Regions from separate parts of the Homo sapiens genome. Here region 2 is linked to region 1. Evidence: promoter capture Hi-C in 16 types of primary human blood cells and fetal thymus (Javierre and others, 2016). All regions are on one chromosome and are shown on one strand. Each heading gives the region's core, a stretch centred on a gene start or on the middle of the fragment in contact. The rest is flanking DNA. Distances are from core to core; before and after follow the strand shown.

Evidence for each region. Contacts are between HindIII fragments. The CHiCAGO score rates a contact against its expected background, and 5 or more counts as called.
Region 2: a fragment that was not itself captured here is called in contact with the fragment with the promoter of PDCD4-AS1 in region 1 in 1 of 17 cell types (erythroblasts); the score reaches 7.8 in erythroblasts.

Annotation. Positions count from the first base shown.
Region 1 is chr10:110,864,388-110,872,153 of GRCh38, reverse strand. It overlaps PDCD4-AS1 (PDCD4 antisense RNA 1), which reads left to right and starts at 1,250. Exons shown (of 1, transcript NR_026932.1): 1 at 1,250-3,264. It overlaps PDCD4 (programmed cell death 4), which reads right to left and starts at 226. Exons shown (of 12, transcript NM_014456.5): 1 at 136-226. It overlaps LOC124902500 (a long non-coding RNA gene), which reads right to left. Exons shown (of 2, transcript XR_007062288.1): 2 at 5,706-5,980. RefSeq lists silencers at 1-33, 64-113, 4,366-4,435 and enhancers at 1,118-1,728, 4,556-4,605, 7,007-7,386. The HindIII fragment of the contact is 8,654 bases long and covers 542-7,766 here.
Region 2 is chr10:113,852,980-113,860,745 of GRCh38, reverse strand. It overlaps NHLRC2 (NHL repeat containing 2), which reads right to left and starts at 6,085. Exons shown (of 11, transcript NM_198514.4): 1 at 5,696-6,085; 2 at 2,066-2,218. The coding sequence starts at 5,873. LOC124902506 (a long non-coding RNA gene) reads right to left here and starts at 2,059. Exons shown (of 2, transcript XR_007062295.1): 1 at 744-2,059. DCLRE1A (DNA cross-link repair 1A) reads left to right here and starts at 6,664. Exons shown (of 9, transcript NM_014881.5): 1 at 6,664-7,766. The coding sequence starts at 7,564. RefSeq lists an enhancer at 4,901-5,605 and a silencer at 5,616-5,975. The HindIII fragment of the contact is 866 bases long and covers 2,781-3,646 here.

The sequences.
Region 1 (7,766 bases), core at 1-2,500:
AGGCCCGGACCTGACAGGACCGCGACCCCCACGCCTCCGCCCCCGCCCCCTCCCATCTTGCGGCTGCCTCCGAGGAGGGATGGGGGAGAGGGCGCAGTCTTCCCGAGCGTGTGAGCCGCGCCTACTGGTACTGACCCCTCGGGCCCCCGCCGCTGCTCGCCCAGGTTCCTGGTCAGCCGGCCCCGACCCCGCTCTTCTGTCTCTGCCGCCGCCTCGGAGAGTCTCTGGCCCTTCTCGCTCTGTTTGTTTTTGTTTTCTTCTACCCAGTAACACGGGGGCGAGAGGGCGGCGCTTATTGGCCGAGGCCGGGTGGTCGGCTGGCCAATCGTGGCGGCGGAGCCGGAGCTGAGGAGGAAAAGGGAGAGGAGTGAAACGTGGAAAGTTGGGGAGGGGCGCGGGAGGGCGCATGCGCATGTGGCTCCTGGGACTGGCTGGAGCGGGAGTTGAGCGGGAAGTCGGGGTGGGGGTATGTTGGGAGGCGTGGCGGGATGGGAGCGTTGGGAAAAGGGCAGTGCTGGGGGATGGGGACGAGGATGAAGCTTCCTCGACCCAGCTCACCCATTCTCCTCACAGGGCGTTCTGCAAACTCGGCTGAAGCAAAGGTTTTGAGCTTCCTGATGGTCCCTGCCTCCATTTCTAGAAACTGCTTAGGCGAACACTCCAAGTGATCAGCCTGTCCGATTCCTCCTCCCTCTGGCCGCTGCTTTCTCTGTGGCTTCCAGTTTCTGGAGATCCCATGCTAAGAAGTTTCTCTCAGCGAATCCCCTCAAACCTTTGAGATGGAAATAATTCCCATTTCACAGATATAAAGCAGGCTCCAAAACTCTTTGAAGTTCCTTTGCTAATCATGACTAGCCAAGCCTCTGGCGTTCAAACGCACAAATTCCGGCCTCCAGTGCTGGGGTTCTCAGCCATGGCTACAATTTCTGTATTGAAACTTCCACCTCCCCTCGCTGTTCTCTGTGACTTTTCCTCTTGGCTGCATTGGTTTTGGCTGGTACTATCCTTACTCTTTCAAGGTCACGGTCCCCTGAGGGTGATAACCAGAACCTTAGGCTTCCTTTGTGTTCCCAGGCGGGGACTTAGCCACTGCCTCTGATCAGATTTTTCAGTTGTCTGATGGGCAGCACCGAATGATTGCTTGTGCTCTCCAGAACCCAACTGCCTCATCCCGCACAGGCCAGCGCTTTCCCTTGGCTGCCCAGTCACCCTGCCTGGGAATCATCTCTAATGCTACTATTTCTCTGCACACACACGCACACACACACACACAAACCTTCACTGGCTTCCCATTGCCTCTCTTGAGTGTCAGCGCCTCGGTCGGTCATTCAAGGCTCCGTGATGTGACTTCAAGACTTTCAGGCTGTGTCTCCACACATCTCCCCATATGCTTCCTCACCCCCTGGTAGTTCTTTATATATCACCTTGAAATGTCTCTCTTCTCATCTCCTATCTCCGCCTGATGCAATCCTTCTGTGCCTCATGGCCCTTCCTGGTAGTTTTTTATTTTGTTGTTGTTGTTGTTTTATTTAATTGAGGCAGGGGCTTGCCCTTTAGCCCAGGAGAATGCAGTGGCATGATCACAGCTCACTGCTGCCTCGACCTCCGTCAGCCTCCCTAGCTCAACGATCCTCTCACCTCAGCCTCCTGAGTAACTGGGACTACAGGCACAGCTCACTATGCCCAGCTAATTTTTGTATTTTCTGTACACACAGGGTTTCATCATGTTGTCCAGGCTGGTCTTGAACTCCTGGGCTCAAGCAATCAGCCCACCTCTGCCTCCCAAAGCGTTGAGATTACAAGCGTGAGCCACCATTCCTGGACCCTCGTAGTTTTTCTGGAGCCTCGTGATTTGATATGATCTTCCTGCCGCTGATTCCTCACAGTGTTGGCTTGCCACACCTCCAGGGGCACTGATCACATTCTACCTGGCATTATTTCATCTGAGTCCCTGTCCTAGCCCTTCTGCCCATTAGACTGTAACCTTGTTTAGGGAAAGACCTGTGTCTTACTCATCTGTGATTTTGTTGTTGTTGTTGTTTTGAGACAGGGTCTTGCCCTGTTGCCCAGGCTGGAGAGCAGTGGTGCAATCTTGGCTCACTGCAGCCTCAACCTGTTGGGGTCAAGCCATCCTCCCACCTCAGCTTTCCAAGTAGCTGAGACTACAGGCCTGTGCCACCACACCCAGCTAGTTTTTTGTATTTTTAGTAGAGATGGGGTTTTGCCATGTTGCCCAGGCTTCTCTTGAACTCCTGAGCTCAAGGGATCTGCCTGCCTCGGCCTCCCAAAGTGCTGGGATTACAGGCGTGAGCCACTGTGCCTGACCCACTCACCTGTCATTGTAGTACTTAAGATGCCTTGTTCATTTATTGTGCCTGTGCAATAAATACACCTTGATTTGAGTTTACAAAGATTCTCAGCAGTTGGTGGTCATCCTCATCTCCTGGGCGGGGGCCTCCTGGTGTGGCCAGTATCTGAATTAGTCTCATAACTCATGTTCACTTTTTAAAATCGGAGCTTCCCAGACCTCAGTTTTGTTTTGTTATTTTCCATTATCTGCAGCTGTCTCCTTTCCCCTCTCTCACCTATACTCTACTGATCAGTGACTGCTGGCTCCTTTGTTACCCATCCTTCTCTTTCTCCACATTTTTTCTCTTCTCATCCCTTTCAGTTCTGGACTGTTTCCTTCTTCCTCCCTGTCTTTCATTTAGTCATTCATTGAATGTACTTACTAAGCACATATAGCATAATCAGGCTGTGTTGGGTAGGCATCCCGAGTTCTATGAGATAAAGAAAGAATGGGATATGATTACCAATTTTAAGAAGCATCTAAAACAACCTGTTATGTTTTAGCAAATTGCCCCCAAAGGACCCATTAGGGAGGAAAACGTTCATGTCCTTTTTGCGTATCATCTCAAGCAGTACCCATGATGGCTGGGATCCCAGAACCCACCTTTGAGAATGCTGCCGTATTTGCGTGTGGTTGACAAGGTTGGGCCAGACACTCAGGAAATAGGGTTGTCGTCCTACCTCCCCCACTAACTTCCTGTAAGAACTTCAGCCCCTCTCAGGACCTTTTTCTTTACCAATAAAATTCAGAAATTGGGCTCAATCAGTAATTCCCAAGTTATTTTCCAAAGAACATGAATTTTGTGGAACTTTAATAGATATCATGCAAAAAAAAATGTGGGAGGGATTGTTCCATGGTCAAATGGTCTTGGAAATAACTCGTTTAAACAAAAATAAAACTGTTTCTTTACCCACAACTCTTCTCAGTGGTTTTTTGTTTGTTTGTTTGTTTTTTGAGATGAAGTTTTGCTCTTGTCGCCCAGTTTGGAGTGTAATGGCACTATTTTGACTCACTGCAACCTGTGCCTCCTGGATTCAAGTGATTCTCCTGCCTCAGCCTCCCCAGTAACTGGGATTATAGGCGCCTGCCACCACGCCTGGCTAATATTTATATTTGTAGTAGAGTTGAGGTTTCACCATGTTGGCCAGGCTGGTCTCGAACCCCTGATCTCAAGTGATCTGCCCTCCTCGGCCTCCCAAAGTGCTGGGGTTACAGGCATGAGCCACCGTGCCCAGCCTTCTCAGTGTTTTTAATAAGCTATGTGCCTTTAGTGTCTTGGGAGACCAAGGTAGGAAGATTAGTAATGTTTCCTACCTTGTTTAAACACAGAACCTTTTTTTCTCAAGATACCCCAGAAGCAGTGTTATTTAGAAACCAACTTGGGAAATATAGATGACAGCCACTGTCACCAACATTCCTTCCAGCTGTGTTGAACACTTAGTCACCTGTGCCTTTGCAGCTGAACATTTAACAAAAAAAATTTTTTTAAGAATAAGCTGAAAATGGAGAAGTATCCAAGTGCCAAGAATTTTTGCCTACCAAATCAATCCACAAATATTTTAGTGTGTGCCTGTTCTATGAAAAGCACAGTTGATTCAGCTGTGTTCTTGGTAAAAGGCATTATACTACTTTAGGGTAGGTAATATCTGAAGCCTAGGGCTGCCCGGGCTTCTGGGCCACAATGTATGTTTTCATTTCACGTTGTAATTGTCACAAACTAGGTTTCTGTTACCTGAATCCCTGTGCCTATGGGCTTATGTTAATTTAGCTATTAGATGACAGAAAAGGAGAGAGGCCTTCCCCTTAACTCACTCTATACAGAATAATGGAATTGCAACTTCCATTTCCCTTAAGAAAGATTCATTCCAAGAGCTTAGGAGAGGAAGGGAGATCACAGTTGCCCAGAACAAGACAGCTGCTCAGAGGTGGCAACAGAAACTCTGTGCTTTGTGAGTAGATAAACGTTACATACTTCATCTTCCCCGTACTCCTCAGGCTTAAGCAGTATTGAGATACTTGGAGGGGCGCAAAGAGTGTTTGGTTTTGTCAGGGGAGAGGGTGGGAGATAGTTCCTATTTTTCGCCTCTTAAGACAAGGTAGTGACCCTGTCCCTAACTAGCTGTGTTGCTTTGGGTGTTTCACTTCCTCTCCCTGAGTGAATTGAATGCTTCAATTTTCTGTGCTGTAAAAGAAGGAGGTGCCCATTGCAGGGAGTCCATAAGCAGCCATTCAGTTCTAACACCCTGGGATGCTGAGCAAGGTACTGAGTTGGTACCATGGGAGTCCTGGGAATGGAGAACAAGAGATAAGAAAGTTTGCTGGCCGGGTGTGGTAGCTCATGCCTGTAATCCCAGCACTTTAGGAGGCCAAGGTGGGCGGATCACTTGAGGCCAGGAGTTTGAGACCAGCCTGACCAACATGGTGAAACCCCATCTCTACTAAAAATACAAAAAAATTAGCTGGGCGTGGTGGTGCATGCCTGTAGTCCCAGCTATTCAGGAGACTGAGGCAGGAGAATCTCTTGAACCTAGGAGGCGAAGGTTGCAGTGAGCTGAGATCCCGCCACTGCACTCCAGCCTGGGTGACAGAGACAGACTCCACCTCAAAACAAACAAACAAAGGAGTTTGCCACTGTTGGCAGGAGAGGATTCCACCGGGTATGGACAGAGGGACTGTCAACCCAGGGGCTTTCTCCTAATGCAAAGCTCAGATAATATCACCTCCCTCCATCCCAAAGGCAAAGTGATGGCTGGTGTGGGTTTAGGAGCACTAATTAATTAATTTGGGTAAAGTACTTGAAAAAGCACAGTTGAAGGCAAAAGATAAGCACCTAGATTTACTATTAATGCCTTTGGAACTCTCCAAGGCCTTTTCATTCTTAGGGTAAAGCCTCATTTGAGAGTTCTGTTTCTTAATAAGAAATGGTCATGCCCCTAAATGAAATTGAGGAGAATTTGTCTTTCTGGGGGCTAAGGGTAGGTCTTAGCCCACTTCCTTCCTAAGAAATTTTAGATGCTGCTGTCATTTGCAGCAACTTCATCTACCTGAACTGACGCCTTGTCTCCTTTTGTCAAACCAAAGCCTGAATTTTGAGAATTTCTCTAAGGCAAAAATTGCACTTTAGCACAAATGGTAAAAGATATAAAACATGTTCTGAAGAAAGAGCTGCATAAAGAATTCTTATAATAATGATGATAGCTGACATTTGTGTTGGCCTAAGATTTACTGAGCACATGTGCATAGACTTTCACCACCTCCCTATGAAGTGGACAAGATTCTGTGCTTTAAACATGAGGGAAATAATGAACCTTGAGCAGGTCACTGGTAATCATGGAACTTTTATACTGAAAGGAAATTTGGGGATTCCCTAGTCCAAACCTTTTATTTTACAAATGGAGAAACAGATTCAGAGAAGTTAAGTGGGTCACCTAAAGCCACACAGCTAAGTTAGTAGCTGAGCCAGAAGTACATATGAGATCTCTGCCCAGAGTTGTAGGGAATGTGCAGACCAGGAATCCAGACCTTCTGGCACCCAGGCTGGGCTGGACTTTCCCTCACATGCCTCTTGATTGACAGTTAAATTTCTGGGTCCTAGAGGCTCCTGGTATCAGATGAATCCATCTCAGGGGCCTGAAAGTGGGGAAGAGGGAAAGGGTAGTAAGCATTGTACAACGTTTAGAAACCCTTCAAGGGGCATTTCTTGCATGTCTTTCCTGGGGTAAAAAGCAAGCACAGAGTAATGTGAAGCATAGTTCAAAAAATAGATGCAATATTTTACTGTGGTATGTACCAAGAAAAATTGAAAGACTACTAAGATTTTATTTCCTCAATTCAGGTTTCGAAAGGTTTTCTTAGTACATTTGTCTTTTATGGGGTTTCCCCCCCTCAAATCACTCCTACCACCTTAGAGATTTAGAAAAAAAGCTCAATTAACATTGAGGAACTCCAGCAAGAAATCTTTCCCGCACCATATCCCCCGCCAAAACACAAATTTTACCACATCTCCTATACTTGGCCTAAGTTCTAAGCCTTTGCAAACTCCAGTTCATTAGACTTTTGCAAACACAGACCATTCCACCCGATGCTTTTCAGCATTTATTATAACTGCCACGCCCTGCATTTAATAGTGTTGAGTCAGGGTAGAGAAGTGCTCCTCCAGTTGTATCTCTCGGGGCTTTATTCGCATTCTTCTGGAACACTGGATCCTGGGCTAGGCTTCACATGTCTCAGAATTAATCCTCTTTTCTCCAGCTGCCCTGAGTGCACATAGCTGCCATTATGCCCCCCTCCCCTCTATGTCTGCAGTGTCGGCTTGCTTCCCAGACAAGGAGGTAGGGCCCAGAAAGCCTGGTATAGAAATGAGGAACTTTTCATTCTGGAAAATAAATGAAATGAATGATCTTGGGTTGTGATTAAGACAGCCAAATCTATAAGGAAGTACAAACAGAGAAGGCTAGAGAAGGGCAGGGGTAAGGCAGGGCTGAGGAAGGGGGATGGCTGAAGAGACAAATGCTGGGTAGAAGTTAATTAATGGAACTAATCGAACCTCTATTTATTTTGAGCAAAAATAAATAAATAAAAGTAGTGGCAAGAGAAGAACAAGGGAAACCCAAGAAAGATGTTGCTTTTTGTTATTAAATGTTTATAATAAAAATGAAGCTAGCCCCGTAGAAGTTCAGAGAAAAGAATAAAGTCCCAGGAGATGACCTGGTGAGGACAACTTGCTCAGATAACAAATGAGCAAACCAAGGCCCAGACAGAAGTGGTGCGGCTCCTGGCAAGACACAGACAGAGCCATAGGACCTCATTCCACGGCCAACAGCTGCCTTCCTTTTCCATATGGTTCTCTGCATGTGTCTTGTCCTTCTGCCCTGTTTTTTTTTTCTTTCCAAAAAGCTAGGAGGACAGCATTCAGAAAGAGAAACTAGGACTGGCATTTGTAAACAACAGCTCCAGGAAGTCCCCAAGTACCGCAGTTGAAGTAACATGATTGACAGTCATTCAGCGCAATTGACAAAGCCAACATCAAAACAGGAACTAGCAAGCAACAGGCCACCCTCCAAGAACCAAGAGTTCAAAAGAAAGAAAAAAAATAACTGCTCAGGGGACAACTGAGAGTCTTACTATCGTTTCTTGTGTTACATAGGTCTATGATATGTTTTGTTTTCAGAGAGCTCTCTTTGAGGACAGTAAATCTAGCCCAGTGATTTACTGGTTGGCTTCAGAGGGTGCAAGAACACCCTAAAATTTTATGCAAGTTTTATTATGAATATGCATTTGATGCCACAATGGGTCAATAACTTTTTCCCATAAGGCCCCCAAAAGAATCATGTCCCAGAAAAGATCAAGAACATCTGGAATATGTTTCTACATTTATGTTATTACATGTTATTACATTTGGGCCCATTTTCAGACT
Region 2 (7,766 bases), core at 1,964-4,463, 3.0 Mb before region 1:
CTTTCTAGCTTCTATTTAGGTTTTCTCTTTATTGTATTTCCATTTTCTTCATACATTGTTTTTTTAAAACTTTTTCCATATTTCCCTTTAGTTATTTGGGCATCTTTAAGACAGTGTTTTAAAGTCTTTGTCTCATAGATATGTATCAGGTATTTTTTAGAGACAATTTCTATCGGTTTATTTTTTTCCTTTGAATGGGCTGTACTTCCCTGTTCTTGAATGGGCTGTACTTCCCTGTTCTTTGTGTATGCTTTGTGATTCTTTGTTGAAACTGACAGTGAATTCTTGCTCCACTTACAAAGTATTTTGCTTTTCAGAAGCATATTTGTATATAAAAATATTTTTAATTTTTTTGTCACAATGTGCTATAAAAACAATGTTTCCAGTAAACTAGTAGGAGATTATAAGGATCCATTCTAGGAAGTCACTGAATCTGCTTAAGGTATGGGGTTAACCATGAGTTCACCAAATAGTCTTTCAGGGGTGATCTTAGGTATGGAACTGGTAAACTTTGAGATTCTTAACTCCATGTGTAATGCCATTCTAAAACACAAATGTCATCCGTCTACTAAAAAAACAAATCAAAAACAAACTTCAATCTCTGTATCCTCACAGAAGGAAAAGTCTAAACTATTAAGAACGCTATACAATGCATTTCACAATGTGCTCCTAACCTAACCTACCTTTGTCTCCTTTTACTTTTACCATGAACTCTTACAATCTTGCCACACTAAATTATTTACCTGTTCTTGGAGCAAGAATCCTACTCCTCTGTGATTCCATGCTTGTTTACCTGAAGCTTCCTCAGCCAGGAGTGTCCCTTCTGCCCCACTTTCATTTTCAGCTGCACTCCTGCTTATTTTTCAAGTTCTAGCTCAATTGTCTCCTTCTCTGAGAAATCTTTTCCAATGTTTCTAGGCAAAGTGACTTATTCCTTTCCTTAGGTTCCATAATGTTTTTTATTCAATTTTGTTACATATTTCCTCAGCAGTTAGCAGAGTACCCTGCACATAACAACATGTTCAATAAACGTGATGTCTTGAACAAGAAACACTGGCATCTAAAACCTAGGAGATAAGATATCCATATTTCTTAAATCCATACAGATAAATTTTTAATAACAGGATTTAGCTAGTAGAAATATTTGAGTTCTTGATAAATCATTTGACTGGTAATTTTAACATACAATGTATTACAATTCAAAAGCATCTGAAGTTTCAGTTGCACTGAAGATTTCTCTATCACTTCCCCTTTAAAGTTAAGTTTCAGAATATCCTTTACTTTCACACGTATATAGTCTATTCTCATCTTTACTAACACAGGATCGGTGACCCTATCTCTTTTTTTTATCCACTCCAAGATTAGTGCTTCAATTCACTTGAACCTAATTAAATGATACTTTTAATTAATTTCATTTACTCCCATGTTCTTTTTTTAGAAAGTAGACAAAAAAAATTTGATTAATTTTTCAAACTTCTAAAGCCAATAAGTATAATCTCCTACATCTTTAGAATTTGTAATACCATAAAAATGGATTTCCTAGTGTGCTTTGAAAAACATTAGCTGTAATAAATCATTTTTTAATGAAGCAGGGTCAAAGAAAGAGTATCTGTTATATTTTGCATTCCACTGCAGTTCATGTCATTCAATATTAATGAAAGCCTAGTCACATTTCCTAATAAGAACTTTAAACCTTTGTATCACAGTGAAAACAGTGTAAAATTAAGGTCAGATATTTTATTTTTTTAATAGAACAAATTTAAGTCAGCCTCAACATACAAAAAGACCTTTTAAAATATCTGATCATGAAAAATAGCAAATTATGCCCCTATCCGCAGAGAAAAACCATATACTAAATGCTGGTTCTTTAGATAGGCAAACCACTATCACTAAGCTTAATCCTTTATGAAAAGGTACATGAAGTCTTTAATTCATAGATAAGAGATTACTTTTAGAATCCCTGAAGCCTTGCCAAATGTTCATTCTCCTATGAGCTAATGAGTCAGCCACTCTTCCAGTGACTATGCCAGGACAGTCTGTTAGAAACTAATTAAAGAGCAGATACCTTTATCAGAGTATGTGTGTTCTAATGCATGGAGATCAGGCAATAGGTGAATACAGTTTATGCAGCAGTAGGTGAAGAAATCAAGGACGACTATTTTTCCACATAGATCCTTGTAGACAGAAATAGGTTCTTCTGTGTTCAGCCATTCTAATCCTGAAATTTACATAAAATAAATTACAATGATTAAAGAGAAAGATAAAATTTACCTAAAACTTTCCATTAAAATGTGACCTTTTTTTTTAAGACTAATGCAAATAAACACTTTGAGAGAGTAGCACCATATAAAGGCTGTGGCAGTTGCATGTATTTATAGTTGTTTACTATGAACCATCATTTTCTATCAACAAAAGAAATAAAAGATATATCTTTATGACTGTAACTAAACAGGTATTTGGGTTTGGAAGAACATACCAAAAAGGCAAATTAGCAGAGATTAAAAGCCCAAAAAGGGAAGAAAGAAAAGGAAGGGATGGGGGTACGGGTGGGGGAGCAGGAGGAGTAGAGGATGGGAAAGCTGCTATTATGATGCCATCTGCAAATAAAGCAAGAAAAAGCTACTAAATTCTTTCAGAAATAGGGTAACAGTCTGTGAAAAGGAGTAAAGGCAACACACTTAGGCAAAAAAAAAAAAAAAGGAAGAAATATCAAATAGTAAATGAACCTAATTACATAAACAATTAGATACAAATGGGCTACTGAGAATAAAGGTCAAGCTTAAGAATAGTAAGATATAACTAAACATCAAAAAGGAGTGAAATGTGTGTAAGGATAAACATACAAAATGCCTAAAACAGTTTCCTAAAGGAGAAGAAACTGAAATATTCTGGATTTGGATGAGACCGTAAATACAAAATAAAATATGCTAAATGTAAAGTTAAGCAAAATACACTTATTATTGTCACAGATTTCATTGAGGTAACATTAATATTAATGAAGAACGTGTTCCCTTTCCTCCAAAAAAAGAAAGCTCTGTACTATGAAGAAAGATTTTGTTAACTAATAATAAAGTACAGCATCCCTATTTAACCAATTTAAGAAAACAAAGTTTACTGCTTATAAATAACTCAATGCAGCTATTACAACTATTAATTATGCCTTGAAGCAGGTATTTAGAATAGCTTTTAGCAACTGAAAGCCAAACTTGGGAGGAAGAAGTAAACAGTAACAGCTAATGATTAACAACAATAACTGTTGTTACTCAATCATAACAAAATTCTAGAAAAAAAAATCTGCAGATCAAACTAGTATTTGGGCCAATTAGTCCAAACTAATGAGGTTTCAGGGTACAGTGACCTCTTAATTATCCATTTTGTTAAAATATTAATTATATACCAGATCAAGTGATCATACAAAACTTCAGACTAATTAATGTATATTTCATATCCTACTTGCAAAATATTTATTAATCTGTCTTCTGTGACTTTTCTGTAAATAGTCAAGAGTGGCTTAGATCAGGGGGTATAGAAAGAATGACTACATCTTAGTCACCGTGCTAGATACTTACCAGGCTTAATAAAATTTATTTTACAATAACAATAATTACAATGAATACAATAAAAAGCTGCTAACATTTAGTAAGCTTTTCTGTGAATTAAGAATTTTACATATATTACTTTCAATACAAATAATAATCCTGAAAGGTAAATAATAGTTCAGTTTTGCAAGTGAGAAATATAAGGCTTTGAGGTCAAGTAACTTGCTCAAAATCACACAACCAACAAAATGGAAATAACAAGGATCTAATTCCAGGTCTCTGTGAATCTATCCATTACACTGCACTGTCTCCTATAAACATGTAAGTCTTCTAAGAAATGAACAAAGCATACAGTTTTTCAAATAAAGTTATGTTTATGACTTCCTGATTATAGTTTACTGCTAAAGAAACCAAGAAAACAGTCATTTCTAGCATTCTGTCCTCAATAATCGGGTCCAGGAGAAAATCATACTGTGTTAAACACAAAGCCTGAATATTTTATTATATGTTTTTTTAGTTATGAGTCACAGAGGTCAAATCTCATGGGAATAAAATACACTCCCTGTAAATACAAACAAGACTAGAAAATAAAAAACATTCCCCAAATCCCAGTTGATGGCCTGCTTGTTTATAACAGTGTACTTACTATATAACTACCTTCTGCACCAAAACTTTTTAAAATCATATATTTGTATAGATGTAAACAATCTTTTAAAGTTTGATGGGATAAGCATTCATGTACCCAATTCTTTTGTAAGAATTCCACAATATTTCAAATCCAGTATAAGATTAATAGCAGGAAAAATAAGCACTTCTCAAGGTGAGTAGTGCAAAAGACTTGGAAAGACACCAATACTCTGTTGTCGGAGGCAGGTTCCGATATACCTCCCATGAGATAACTGAATTCTGCCACATCCAACCAATTAACTATACATGTGGTTTCAGTGTCACGCCAGGACACATGCCAGCACCATCAGGCAAAGCAATGCTACTCCCATCCAAAGAAGGTAAAATACGTTTTCATTTATCATGGCAAGATATGCTTCACAAACATCCCTGCCGGGAATATCTGTTCCTTCATGCTCCAAAAGCTCACATGGCCAGGATTTAAACCCTGGAAATAGGCTATAATTGATTCCGATTTTTAAAAGTATTAGTTTCACGACTTTGAACGGAGAAGCACAGTACAGCTAAGAAACCAGCAAATCCAGGGCCTGTATAATCCAACTGGGGCAGTTATCAGCTGTGAGGCCCTGGGCATGTGACTTAACCTCTCTGTGCTTCCATTTCCTCAACTGTGAAAGGGGAATGATAGGAGCACCTCACTGGGATATAGAGGTAATTGAATAAGGTAATATCTCCTCAAGTGTTTAGGTATCCCCTCAAGTGTTTAGGACTGTGTGTGGCAGGCCGGGCGCGGTGGCTCACGCCTGTAATCCCAGCACTTTGGGAAACGGAGGCGGGAGGATCACTTGAAATCAGGAGGTCGAGACCAGCCTGGCCAACATAGTGAAACGCCGTCTCTACTAAAAATACAAACAAAACAAAACAAAACAAAACAAAACAAAACAACTAGCCAGGCGTGGTGGCGCGGGCCTGTAGTCCCAGCTACTCCGGAGGCTGAGGCAGGTGAATCGCCTGAACCTGGGAGGCGGAGGTTGCAGTGAGCCAAGATCACGCCACTGTACTCCAGCCTGGGAGACAGAGCGAGACTCCGTATCAAAAAAAAACAAAAAAAAACCCTGTGTGTGATACATGAAAAAGTGATCAATAAATGTCAAGATGATGCAGAAAGATGACCAGAAGACACTGGGGAACCAGATTGAATGGACAGAATGGTGTGGACGTTGCAATCATTGCCACCGGGGACACTAAATATTCACGGAGTGTCCACTTGGCTAATATCAGGCGCGGGCGGAACTCAGGATACACAGACGAGTATGTGGATCCCCGTGCCAGGGAAACCCCCGTCGGTGGCCGCTTGGGGACCCCTGGGAATTGCAGAACACGCGAACAGCGGCCCAAGTTAGGCGAAGGGCCACTCCCCGGGGCGCCAGCGGCACAAACCCGCCTAGCCCACCGCTTCGCGGGAGGGCGCCGTCCCCGAGGAAGGGGAGGTGCCGGGAGGGGCCCCCACCCCGACGCCAGCCCCTCACCTTCCGGAAACTCGGGTACTGACAAGTCCTGCTCCCAGCCGTCCACCTTCTGCAGATACTGGTAGACCAGGCTGTCCTTCTCCTGCTGGGTAACGGCGTCGAGCAGGGCGTACTCTAGCGAGGTCTGCGCGGGGAGCAGGCCGGAGAGGCTGCGGCCCCGGCCTCCGGGCGCCGCCATGTTTCCGCCGGGCTCCCGATGCGGCCGCCGGGCCCGCGGGAGAGTCTCGCTGGGAGAGACGAAACGTTCACTGTCCTGTGGTTTCCAAACGGCGCATTCACCTCACCCTCCACTAGCCCCACTCCACGCCAATGACACTTTTTTCTTTTTAAAGCATAGGTCCAAGTGCCAAAAGTCCAAATCGGCGCAGTTCCCGGGGACGTAATTAAACTGCCGTCCGACCCACCCCGCCCCTTTTCGGTCCCCACGCCGCAGCCGAGCCTGGACATTGAGAGCGTCAGATTCAACATGGAATAAGGCCTTAGGGACAGCGTCCCAGAGGCGCTAAGGGAAACATCCCCAACCCTCCACATTGGGAATTAGCGGACTTTCGAACACAAATAAAATACAATAAATCCGTAGGACTTAAAAGGGCAATGTATTTTTAAAAATTATTTTTAAAGTCTCTCTCTTTGAACAGCATCCGCCGATTCGACACGGCACTGGCAGCGGGAACTTGTTCCCGCCAAGACCCTAAAGGTAAAGCGGGTAGGGATAACCTCCAGAGAGAAGGCTTTGTAAACTGGAAGTGACTGGCGCGAGTGGCTTTCACTTATACACAAACACAGCGTTTTGTCATCTGGGAGTGCTGAAAGTGCGGGCGCGAACACATTTTTAGATGGGGGTGCCGGGAGGAGCGGATGCAGCTGGAGCGGCTCCCTTGGGGTGCCGAGTGGCAGGTGGGGGGCGGTGAGGGTCCTTGAGGGCGGGCCTTAGAGTCTTCAGAAGGGCAGGACTCTGAGGGCTTTTTGGAGCTCGCTATGCTTAACCTGGAGATGATTAAGGCCCCGCTTCCTGGCCTCCCAGCCTCTAATGCCAAAAGATAAGGGAGAGGCTGGCGTGTGACCCCGTTTTGAGTCAGGTGGACAGAGGGCTGGCCACCTTCGGAACCATGGGTGCAATACGGAGTCAGACCTCAATACAAGCCCACTCTTTCACATATTTGAACTTTTTTCACATATCAACTTTTTTTGTTCACTGTGCAGGGATTGTTCATTGCTGCTGGAGGAAGATCATGGACTGTCGCGGGAAACTGAAGTGGTTGAGTATCCACTAGTCGTGGATGAGGGCAGTGACTTCGCAGTTTTTTGCGAATTACACATCTCTTTGATTATGTTGTGACTAGTTTTGTTAGATAGTCATTTAGTGTTTGGGATACCTGTTAAGCCCTTTGTCCAGGGACTGTGGTTGGATTTATGAATTATTTGGACGGTTGTCCACTTGAAAGAACTGACAGTAGCTTCATAACAATGTTACAAATCTCGTTCTAAGATTAAGCTGTTGAACCTATATTTGCCATTAGCGCTTAATTTTTGAAGTATTATTTTTATGAATCAAGCCCTGGAAAAGGACAAGATATTTGAATGAAATAGCACCCATAATGGAGAACTTCACAGTTGCTACTCCTGTGATAGGTTTATCTTAGTTTCATTGTGGTATAAATGGAATAGCAGGTGTTGTCAGGTACAAGGTTTGTAGCTTGCCAATATGTTCATTACCAACACTGCAGATTCCCATTGAGTTGGTGGGGGTTTTGTTACCTTTGTTTTTTTTCTCAGCAAAATAATTCTATAACTTTTTGTTTGTGACAAGAAATGGACTTTCAGTTTACTTAAGATTAATACTTCTTGAATGATAAAATCATTTTGCCATGTTAGAAGACATTTCCGAAGAAGACATTTGGGAATACAAATCTAAAAGAAAACCAAAACGAGTTGATCCAAATAATGGCTCTAAAAATATTCTAAAATCTGTTGAAAAAGCAACAGATGGAAAATACCAGTCAAAACGGAGTAGAAACAGAAAAAGAGCCGCAGAAGCTAAAGAGGTGAAGGACCATGAAGTGCCCCTTGG